Linked DNA regions of Homo sapiens: regions 2 and 3 are each linked to region 1. Evidence: promoter capture Hi-C in 16 types of primary human blood cells and fetal thymus (Javierre and others, 2016). All regions are on one chromosome and are shown on one strand. Each heading gives the region's core, a stretch centred on a gene start or on the middle of the fragment in contact. The rest is flanking DNA. Distances are from core to core; before and after follow the strand shown.

What was found. Contacts are between HindIII fragments. The CHiCAGO score rates a contact against its expected background, and 5 or more counts as called.
Region 2: a fragment that was not itself captured here is called in contact with the fragment with the promoter of HPN-AS1 in region 1 in 4 of 17 cell types (total B cells, naive CD4 T cells, naive CD8 T cells and 1 more); the score reaches 6.6 in total B cells.
Region 3: a fragment that was not itself captured here is called in contact with the fragment with the promoter of HPN-AS1 in region 1 in 1 of 17 cell types (non-activated CD4 T cells); the score reaches 5.2 in non-activated CD4 T cells.

What each region holds. Positions count from the first base shown.
Region 1 is chr19:35,104,380-35,108,127 of GRCh38, reverse strand. HPN-AS1 (HPN antisense RNA 1) reads left to right here and starts at 1,824. Exons shown (of 4, transcript NR_024562.1): 1 at 1,824-1,899. LOC124904701 (hepatitis A virus cellular receptor 1-like) reads right to left here. Exons shown (of 3, transcript XR_007067238.1): 2 at 1,292-3,629. The HindIII fragment of the contact is 15,680 bases long and covers 1-3,748 here.
Region 2 is chr19:35,390,262-35,394,009 of GRCh38, reverse strand. No RefSeq gene overlaps it. Among named protein-coding and RNA genes, the nearest start is that of LINC01531, 13 kb to the left of the region's middle. The HindIII fragment of the contact is 543 bases long and covers 1,385-1,927 here.
Region 3 is chr19:34,815,303-34,819,050 of GRCh38, reverse strand. LINC01801 (long intergenic non-protein coding RNA 1801) reads left to right here. Exons shown (of 6, transcript NR_033982.1): 5 at 285-464; 6 at 1,561-2,897. Among named protein-coding and RNA genes, the nearest start is that of LINC01801, 16 kb to the left of the region's middle. The HindIII fragment of the contact is 211 bases long and covers 1,481-1,691 here.

The sequences.
Region 1 (3,748 bases), core at 575-3,074:
GATGGGGTTTCTCCATGTTGGCCAGGCTGGTCTCGAACTCCTGACCTCAGGTGATCCACTCGCCTCGGCCTCCCAAAGTGCTGGAATTACAGGCGTGAGCCTCCATGCCCGGACTAATGAACACCATTGTTGAGAGTTACTATATATCCCAGGCCCCGCCACAGATGAATCAGACATGCCACCTCCTTAATTTGGCCACAGCTTTTTGGGAGCACACAGTAGGCCCACAGACAGAAAGGGAAGGGCTCAGAACCTGACAGCCTGGGTTCCAATCCTAGCACAGCCACTTTCTCCTTATGCGACATTAGGCAAGCAAGTCTGCCTTCCCGGGCCTCAGTTTCCCCATCTGTACCACTGGGATAATAGCAGTCCATCTGCTGTGCTGCCCTTTGGAGTCAATGGGCTCGTTGTGTGGGACGCTGACAGCATGACTAATTCTGAAAGCTGGTTCCCTTCCTGGAAGGGGGTGGAGTGGGAGGGGTGTGGCTGTGTGTTTTCCAATAGCCAACAATGGAACTCTTGTAGGCAGGGGCCCTCGGGCCTAGAAAACACATCCACCCCTGTGGGTTCTAGACAAAAGTTTCAGGTCTCAGAGTGGAGGTTTACCAGGGCATTTACACTCTTTGAAGATTGTTAAGAAGAAATACTGGTTTCGGGGGACATAGGGACACAGGGGTGGATTCCCATTTTGCCCTCTCTCCCTGCAAGAAGTAGCTGCCAGAGATGGGGGGTAGGGGCAGGATCTCTCCCACCTACAACTCCTGAGTAGGATTAGATAGGCTTAAGAAAACCTCTGGGCTGCACTGATTGGCTCAGTGGGGTTTAATCAAAGTGAAGCATTGGAATTTTTGTTGAGTACTTGGGGTAAGAAAAGATTCGGGTTTTGGACAATGGGGAATACACATTTAATGACTGGAAAATTGGCAGTTATTTTGCCATCACAAGAAAAGCCAGCCTGAGGACAAAGCTAATGCTATAGAGAAACACAGACCAAGAGAAATGCTGAAAAACTGAGTTAGCACCCTGATCAAACCATGCCTGATCTCCCTCTGGAATTTTCAGTTATGTAATTAGTCTAAAAATCATAAAACACAGTCTGTGACTGGTTTGAGTTACCTTTTATGAGGCTTTCTGTAACCAAAACAGCCAAAGTGGTATATAGGGAACTTCTGTGGACCCAGAATCTCTACACTTTCACTAGGCTATCACATGATTTTTACTTAGTTTGAGCCAATGTATTTCTTTTAGCTTCAATCGGTTCAAGAGTCTCTAGATGCCAATGAGTGCTTACCTCATCAGGTCGGGGCTCTCTCTGCAGACAAACCTGGGTCCCATGAACCTACATCTTTGAAATGAACACAATGGGACTGCTGGACTTGTTTCTCCTTCCCAATTTCCACCTTGAAAAGGCGCAATGAGCTGGAGGAGCCACAGGACTTGGTAAAAGCAGAAGCGCAAGTGCCTGGAAACTCAACACTCTTCCGGTCAAAGGAGGCGACGTGTGAGTGCATGGTTGCTTGATAAATGCCAGGGGAGAGTGGGTGGCACCCAAAGATGCCCCTGAGGGTCTCACATCTCTGCCCCGGCCCACAGGAGGACGGGGAGCAGCACACGGCGTGGGTGGAGGCCTGGCAGTGGCAGAATTGCTCACAGCGCTCCCCAGTCCAGAAGGCCTCCCCAGCCGGGTGGTGGTACCTGCCCCCCATGGAGCAGCTGCACTGGATTGGGGGCACGCAGTCCATGCCACTGAGCACAAAGCCTGGGTCACACTGGCAGCCATCCTGGCATGGTGTCAGGCAGCTGTCGGGCAGGGCAGGCTCGGCACAAGAGCTAGGACAGGAGGAGCCGCAGAGCTCGTAATTGCTGCGGGGAGGACAGGCCAGCTCTGGAAGAAAACAGGTAGGAGTTAAATAATTGAGCAAGCATTACTATTCTGGAGCATTTCCAACCAGAATAGGACCAAGGGAGCGGAGAGAGGGTTGTGGGGGCCAAGGGTAAGTCATAAAGGCAAAGGAGGGGAGGTGGAGGCATCATCAGGATGTAGCATAATGGTGGCGGCGTGGTCACGGCGGTGATAACGGTGGCGGCGTGGTCACGGCGGTGATAACGGTGGCGGCGTGGTCACGGCGGTGATAACGGTGGCGGCGTGGTCACGGCGGTGATTAACGGTGGCGGCGTGGTCACGGTGGTGATAATGCTGGTGGCGTGATCATGGTGGTGATAATGGTGGTGGTGGTGGTCGTGGTGATAGTAATGATGATGATGGTGGTAGGGCTGGTGATGTTGTTGGTGATGTGATGGTGTTGATGGTGATGGTAATGATAGCGGTGATGGTGACAGTGATGATAGTGGTGAGGGTGGTGGTGGTGGTGATGACAATAGTTGTGGTTGTGGTAACAATGATGGTGGTGGTAGTGATAATGGTGATGGTGATTATAGTAGTGATGGTGATGCTGATGCTGGTGGTGATGGTGATGCTGGTGGTGATGGTTATGATGGTGATGATGATGTTGATGGTGGTGGTGGTGGTGATGATGATGGTGATGGTGGTGATGGTGATGATGGTGGTGATGGTAGTGGTGATGATGGCTGTGGCTGTGGTAACAATGATGATGGTGATGGTGGTGATGGTTGTGGTTGTGGTAACAATGATGGTGGTGGTAGTGATGATGGTAATGCTTGTGGTGATGGTGGTGGTGGTGATGATGGTAATGCTGGTGGTGGTGGTGGTGGTGAGGCTGGTGGTGGTGGTGATGGTGACGCTGGTGGTGGTGGTGATGGTGACGGTAATGATGATAGTGACTGTGATGATGACAAAGGTGACGAAGATAGTGATGAAGAAACAACCTTGGTCATGCTGGGTCATGTTCAGGTTAGTTCGTTACTTCAGCATAACCCAGACCATCCTGACTGATGCAATAGCACTCAGTGTCATCTGTTATTGTTATTGCAGAGTTTTAAGCAGGTAGGTTCTTCGCGGGAACAGTTAGCCAGAAAGGCATGCAGTGGGTCACTTTGGGTGGTGTTGACCTAGGAGGACATCCTGGAAGTGGTATTGGGCCAGCTGGGGAGGTCAGGCTGAGAAAGACCCTCCCTGGGAATACCCACTTACTGCAGGCCAAGAGGTGTCTCCAGGGCTGCATGGGAACGCTGCGCTGCTGGCTTTCCTGGGCGTAGCTCCCCAGTATGGCACACAGAGTCTCTCTTGAGCCCCCCGTGGCACAGAGGTCATGGATGCAGTTCTCCACATGCACCTGGGGATCCACGTCCTTACTGCAGGCCCTGTAGGGCCCATCTTGGGTGCCCAGCAAGCCACAGAAGGCCTGGTATAGGGCTGCCTTGTCTGGTGGGCACAGAGGGGCTGGGCCCCCATTAAGCTGTTGGCATCAGAGAGCCATGTGCTATCAGAGCCGCTGAAGTCATCCTGGGTATCCACGCTGAAGTCCCCGCCCAGGCCACAGAGGGTGTTGGTGTAGGTCTCAGGCACTGCCACTCAGAGGGCATGGGATTCGTGAAAGGTCATGGAGAGGCCGGGTGCCACCTGGACTGTGATGGCCAAGGGCGTGAAGAAGGCCTGGAGTGTGCCCCCCAGCCAGAGTCAGGGGCAGGCCAGCCTGGGAGCCGTTCACCTGGAACACAGACACCCAGGCTACGTCGGGCAACCACGTCCAGACACCTGCCCCTCCTGGGCCCCTGCTCCTGCCACTGCTGAGATCCACTCTGCACATAGCACCCAAGGAGCCCTTTG
Region 2 (3,748 bases), core at 407-2,906, 290 kb before region 1:
ACTTATACACCTGATATGAGGTTTGTAAGCCAATATTCAAAGAACTCCTGTAAGTCAAATAAGAACAAAGCAAGTATTGGGAGAAACACAAATGACTCTACACAATATGTAAATATTGTCTATCTCATTTTTAATCTGGGAGATTAATATGAAAATAATACAGAGTATGACGGTTAATTTTATGTGTTGGCTTGGCCACGCCACAGTGCCCAGATATTTGGTGAAACGTTATTCTGGGTGTTGCTGTGAGGGTGTTTTTGGATGAGATTGACATTTACATTGGTGGACTCTGAGCAAAGCAGATTGCCCTCCAAAATGTGGGGGACTCCTCCAGTCACTGAAGGCCTGAACAGCACAAAAGGCTGACCTCCACATGCAAAAGAGAATTCTCCTGCATGCTGGATTCAGACTTTGTCTGCAGCAGTGGGTCTTCCTGGCTCACCAGCAGGCTCTCTTTAGACTCAACCACAACTTCTTCCTGAGCCTCGAGTCAGCCAGCTTCCTCCGTCAGATTTTGGGCTCATCAAGCATTCACAATCACATGAGCCAATTCCTTAAATAAATCTCTTTATACACACATGCAGACATGCAGACACACACACACACACACACAAACACACACACAGAAACACACAGACACACACACGGAGACACACAGTAACACACAGACACACACATGGACACACACACAGACATGCACACAGAAACACAGAGACACACACAGACACAGAGAGATATACACACACACAGAGAGACACACAGACCCACAAAAACACACAGAGACACACAGAAACACATACAAACATGCACACAGAAACACATACACAGAGACACACATTAACACACAGAGCCACAAACATACATGCACACAGACGCACACAGAGACATACAGACACACACATGGAGACACATATACAGACACACACAAAAACACACACAGAGAGAAACACACACACAGACATGCACACAGAGACACACATAGAGACACAGACAGAGACACACATACAAAAACATACAGAGACACACAGAGGTACACACACACAGAGACACACACAGACATGCACAGAGACACACACACAGATACATACACAGACACACACACAGACACACACACACCGCAGAGACACACATACACACACAGACACATGCACAGAGACACAGACACACAGACACACCCACAGACACACATACACACACTCTATTGGTTCTGTTTCTCTGGAAATCCCAGACTAATACTTAAGTTTCTAAATTCTAAATATCATCTCAAAAAATTAAAATACAATATTTTCTCTTGTCAGCAGAGTTATGGGGTCTCTTACAGACTGTTGGGGAAGAAAGGGTTGACTCAGCCGGGGAAGGTAATTCATCGATATTTATCAAAGCTTTACATGTACATATCATTTAATTCAACAGTACGACTTGTAGGAAATGCACAGTGCACGTGCCTTTATGTAAAAGGATGTTCTCATAGCATTATTTATAATAGTAGAAAATTAGAGATATTTTTAAAAAATCATTCATTCATTTATTCACCATCAAATGCCCAGTCTGTGCTAGGCACGGTTTTAGGCACCCACTGGGTATATAGTGACAAAGAAAACTGACGTGGTGACTGCTGTCATGGGCTTCTCAGTCTAGTAGGAGTCACGTTAAACAAATGAACACACACATACAAACATCAAACCATGAGAGCGCAGTGTGAGATAATATCAGAAGGGGGCTACTTGATATTGGATGATCAGGGAAAGCCTCTCTAAGGCGTGACATTGGACAGAAACTTGGAAGAAGTGGGGAACTAGCCAGGTAAAGAGTGGAAGGCATGGTGCATGCAGACATTCAGAGCTTGGCCTGCTCAAGGGACAGAGAGAAGTCCAGGCCAGAAGAGCGATGTCAGTGACACTTCTCTGGGGATGGCCCCAGAGAAGCTTGGAGAGAGAGGCAGGGCCTCAAAGGCTGTGAGGAGGAGGCCAGAATGGAAAGCCATTGAAAAGTTTTATTCAGGGCAATGACAGGATCCAATTTATATTCCTCATGAAACTGGCCTGATTGTCCCATAGATGCTTCTTTTGGATCAACGTAGAAATTCACCCTTCTTTTTTTTTTTTTTTTTTTTTTTTTAGATGGAGTCTTTCTCTGTTGCCCAGGCTGGAGTGCAGTGGTGCGATCTTGGCTCACTACAACCTCTGCTTCCCAGGTTCAAGCAATTCTCCTGCCTCAGTCTCCTGAGTAGCTGGGACTACAGGCACATGCCACCAAACCCGGCTAATTTTTTGTATTTTTAGTAGAGACAGGGTTTCACTGTGTTAGCCAGGATGGCCTTGATCTCCTGACCTCGTGATCCACCCACCTCGGGCTCCCAAAGTGCTGGGATTACAGGCATGAGCCACTGTGCCTGGCCCCCTCCTGGTCTTAAAGTTTGAAGCCTGCATTTGTCTTATCTGAGTTCTTGCCACAGGAAATCAACGAATTGAAACTCACCAGATCACTGCATCCAGACAATGAGATGCCAGACCCCTCATCCCTCCTGATTTCCTTATCCCTCCCTAATTCCTTTGACCAACTCCTCTTCCTTACCTCTCCCTAACTCTGGTTTTCCCACATGTAGTTACATTTCTTCCCTGCTGTATAACCCCCTGATTTTAGTTGACTAGGGAGATGGATTTGAGACTGATCCCCATTTTCCTTGGCTAAAGCACTCAATTAAAGCCTTCTTCCCAGGCAGTACTCATTGTCTTGGTGATTGGCTTTCTGTGCAGTGAGCAACGGGACCTAGACTGGAGCCCTGGCATTTCAGTAACAGATTTTGGTTCCCTACCTGGGAACACATTGCTTGTGGCTCAGCTGCTGCAGACTGGGACTTTCAGAAGCCCCCTGTACAGCTGTCTGACCTTTTTTTGGCTGGAGGTGGGTTTCCATCTTTTTCTCTTTGGCTCTGCTGCTGCCAGCCCCAAATGTATTGCTGATTGCCTAGGAAGAACAGACTTTGAAATTTGATATCTGTGTCTGGATGGATGAGTGTCTTTTCTGGGTTCCAGACAGCAGGAAGGGCTCCTCTCAATTTGGGAATTTTCTAAGGAATTTCCATTTGCAGGTTGAATAAGCCCAAATGATGGAGGGAGGAAAGCACCATGACTGTTTCAGTTTGGACACTCTTGGGGCTTGTTAGTGAGAACTAAGCTCTGATTTTTAAAATCTTGCCCAAATTCCTATCTAAGGGGTCTAGAGAAGTCATGCTCTACAAACCATAAATTCTCATCAGATTTTTGTTGTTGTTGTTGAGACAGTCTTACTCTGTTGCCCAGGCTGGAGTGCAATGGTGCGATCTCAGCTCACTGCAACCTCTGCCTCCTGGGTTCAAGCAATTCTCCTGCCTCAGCCTCACGAGTAGCTGGAATTACAGGTGCCTGCCACTACGCCCTGCCAATTTTTGTATTTTTCGTAGAGATGGGGTTTCACCATAATGGCCAGGCTGTTCTCGAACTCCTGACCTCAGGTGATCTGCCTGCCTCAGCCTCCAAAAGTGCAGGGATTACAAGCGTGAGCCACCATGCCCAGCCCAGATGGGTTTTATTTAACTTACATATTGTGACTTACTTTCCAATCTTACTCTGGTATAACATTACACGACAAAGAAGAAAGTCATAATATTTTACCCCAAAACATGTTTCTTTGCCATATTTTGAAATGGCCCTGCAAAGTTGTCCTTTGTGGGGGGGAAATGTGCATCTGTAAAGAATCTCTATTAACA
Region 3 (3,748 bases), core at 337-2,836, 290 kb after region 1:
TATTTCTTTGACCCCCAAATAGCCTTTCTCTGCCTGGACACTTCTTCCTTCTTCTTTTTTTTATTATTTTTTATTTTTTCCATCTCTCTCACACCTAGTTTTATGTCCTTCTTACCTACTCCCGTATCGCCACCACTATCTTTCCAGGTGTAATATTTGGTTTATCTATCTGTCTCTCTCTGCTATACTGTAAATTGCTGGGCTGCAAGAGATAAATCTTTGAATTCTATATCACCAAGACCTAGCACTGTTTAATATAATACATTGACTCTTGAACAACACAGGTCTGAACTGCACAGATCCACTTACATGTGGATTTTCTTCCACTGCGGCCTCTCCTGAGACAGCAAGACCAACCCCTCCTTTTCATCCTCCTCCTCCTCCTCAGCCTACTCAACATGAAAATGACAAGGATGAAACCTTTATGATGATCCACTCATCCATTTTCTTTTCTCTAGCTTATTGTAAGTATGCTGTATATAATACATATAACATACAGAATGTGTTAACTGTTCATGTTATCAGTGAGGCCTCCAGTCAACAGTAGGCTACTAGTGGTTAAGTTTTGGGGAAGTCACAAGTCATGCAGACATTTTGGACTGCGTGGGGGAAGCAGCACCCCTTACCCCCACGCATTGTTCAAGGGACAACTGTAATCTGTAAGCAGCTGAAGGAAATGCTTGTACTTTATTTTTCTTTCCACCATCTTAAGATACCTTCATGGGTTGTAAAATACTTTAAAAAGATTGTATTTTCAGCACAGTACAACTCCAAGGTCAGCCAAGTCTGTGTGAAATTATAAATCTTGTGACGATATTTTTGTGGTTAGGACTCGAGATAGACCAGTTATTTTTCCAAATAGAACCTATCCTGCTATTTACCTTAAAAGATAATCATTTGTAATGTGTCAAAGCAACATGATACCAATATCTATGTAATCTATTACATCCTAACAGACTTAAATTTTTTTTAAATTACGGAGCAGTCATGCGTGAGTTCTTTCTTCCTTTTTTCCTCCAGGCCCAAAAGCCTGATTGCCAAGCCAATCATCCATAGGTGAAAGTGTGAATGTTGCTGGACGTGGTGGCTCACACCTGTTATCCCAACTCTTTGGGAGGCCAAGGCGGGAGGACCACTTGAGCCAAGTTTGAGACCAGGCTGGGCAACATGATGAGATCCCCATCTCTCCCCCACAACCCCCTGCAGCCAAAAAAAAAATTGTGAATGTGTGTGAATTACTGGCATACAACTAAATTAAACAAGCAAAAAAGACATTTAAACTCCATGTTCTAGATCCTGGGCCCTGGGCCACAGAAACTTTGCACAGTTAAGCCTGGCTCAACAATCATGGCTTATACAAGTCAGTATTTTCTCCATCATTGAGTTAGAGCAAAAACACATGAGCAGAGGAAACATGGCAGACATAGATAGCAGTGGGTGTCCTGACAGTTCCAAGACAGGAGGAAACCCCCCCAAAGCTTAGGTCTTCCAGGATAACACTGAAACTAGAGTGTAGTGTTGCACGGCTGATACTCACCCATCTCTCTCTTCTCTCCACAGGTGAACATCTTAGGCTAGTGTGTCGACTTCTGACTTGGCTCATCTGAACCCAAGTCCTTGGACACATTCACAAACACCCCAGGGTCTTGGGCTTCCAGTTTGTGCTAGAAGGACAAAGGGCAGGTGAAGCTTGTTTGCCGTAACTAGAAGGAGCAGAAACTGCTCCCAGCAGAACAAGATCAAATCATGGGGAACAGTGGTCACCTGCCATTTCTAGAGGAAGCTTTTGCTTTTGGTCACTGAGGACCCTAAGTCTTACATGAGAAGAAAACAAATAGGGTGATGCTGCATGCTTCTGTCCCCAAAGAATCCCTGTGCAGGTGCCGAGGGTGCCCCAAAGACGAGGCTGTGCTTGCCGTGCCCACCACAGAAGCACATTTGACCTGATCAAAAGCAGGTGGAAAAGGTCCTGAAGCACAGATATTTTCTCAGTGATGTTGTTTTCTCCAAAATGAAAGAGGGAAGGTACCCTGGCTTAGGCCCCTGGTGTTCTGATTGAAGGTGAGAATGGAAGTATCTTCTTCAACATGTTCTCCCATCTGACTGCAACAAGTGTGCTCCAGCCACCAGTGTCCCAGTTGCTCTGAATGATGGTGAGAAGGGTACCCAAACACTTGAATGGTACTGTACCCTCTACTTGCCATCTGAATCCTCACTTGTGGAACCCAGGCACTCTGGCTGTATTCGCGAGTAAGCATAGGTGTGGGACTGTGTCCTGCCATTGCACCATCTTTAATCTGGACTTGTGGACCTCAGGCTCTCTGACTATTCATGGACAGAAGTTTCTGCAGGCACAGGTGGGGTGCTGTTTCCTCCCATTGTACACCTGAATTCAGGACTTGTGGACCCCAGGTGTTCTGGCTGTGTTCATGAACAGAAGTGTCCCCCCCAAACAAACCCATATATGGTGCCATCTCCTCCCATTACAGGTATGGTGCCATCTCCTCCCATTGCAGGCATTGCACTGCCTATACTCTGGACTTATGGCCCTCACATGCTCTGATTGTATTCATAAACAGTAGTTTCTTCAGTCACAGATATGGCACCAGCCCCTCCAACAGAAACAGATGTGCTCAAGCTGAGTGGTCCAAAGGCGTTTGACAGAAGTCATGAACAGAAGTATCTTGGGGCACATGTTTCTTCTCTGTTGTGCAGGCTTCTCCAGCAGTAACAGGTTTGCCCAGGCCATATGGGCCCCAAGCGCTCTGACCAGACACAAGAAGAGAAGACTTGCAGTCACAGGTAGTGTGTTGTCCCCTGCTACTGCAACATAGGTGCTTGGAAAGGTGCAACAGGGTGCTCTGCTTGTGGTGGAAACATAAAGGCCTCCAAGCATAGATGTGCTGCTTTCTCCTTCCCTTTGAGGGATGCAGATGTGCTCTGGCCAGCTGCATTCCAGGTGGTCTGTCTGCAAGACAGAAGTGTCCCAAGCACTGGTATGTGCGGGCTCCTCCAACCACAACAGACGTGCTTTGGCCAGATGGTTTCCAGGTGTTATGAACACAAGAAGGAACAGAGGTGCCTTCTGGAACATGTTTCTTCTCAGTGATGTTCTAAGAGGTGTGCTTTGGCAGGACAGGCCCCAGCTGCTCTGACTGTAGGCAGGGAGGAAAGTGTTTCCCAGGAGTTTTTGCTTTCAGTAGTACTGCCCTCTCCAACTGTACCAGAGGTGCTGTAGGCTTGCAGGAACCCCGGTGCTCATGTGTAAGCCTCCCCAACATAAACTAAGGTGCTGCATGCCCCTCTAGGCCCTGTTCTAAAGCTGAGTGCTTCAGATGTGGAGCTGGGTCTGGGGCAGACACACTGGTCCTAGAGCTGTCATTATCCAAAGAAGCCCCAGAGTCCATGAATGGAAATGGGTCGAGAGAGGGGTTAGCAAAAGGTGAACTGTGCCTGATGCTGAGCATCCAGTGATGGCTCCAGAGCTAGAAGTAGTGGCTGTGCAAATGGGAAAAGGACCCGAGGTGCCACCCAAGGCTGAGTGGGTGCTAGCAGAGATATCAAAGATGGATATGGAGGTAACACGTACGCAAAATCTGATGGCATTATGCTCCCATTGGGTGTCTGGGCTGCAGTAAAGGCTCAGTTTAGAGCTTGTATTGAGATTTTACGTTTCTCAAAGGGTAAATGCTATCAAATACATTGGGGGATCCTGCCAGGGGGAGGCTAGAAAGAGGACATGGTAACC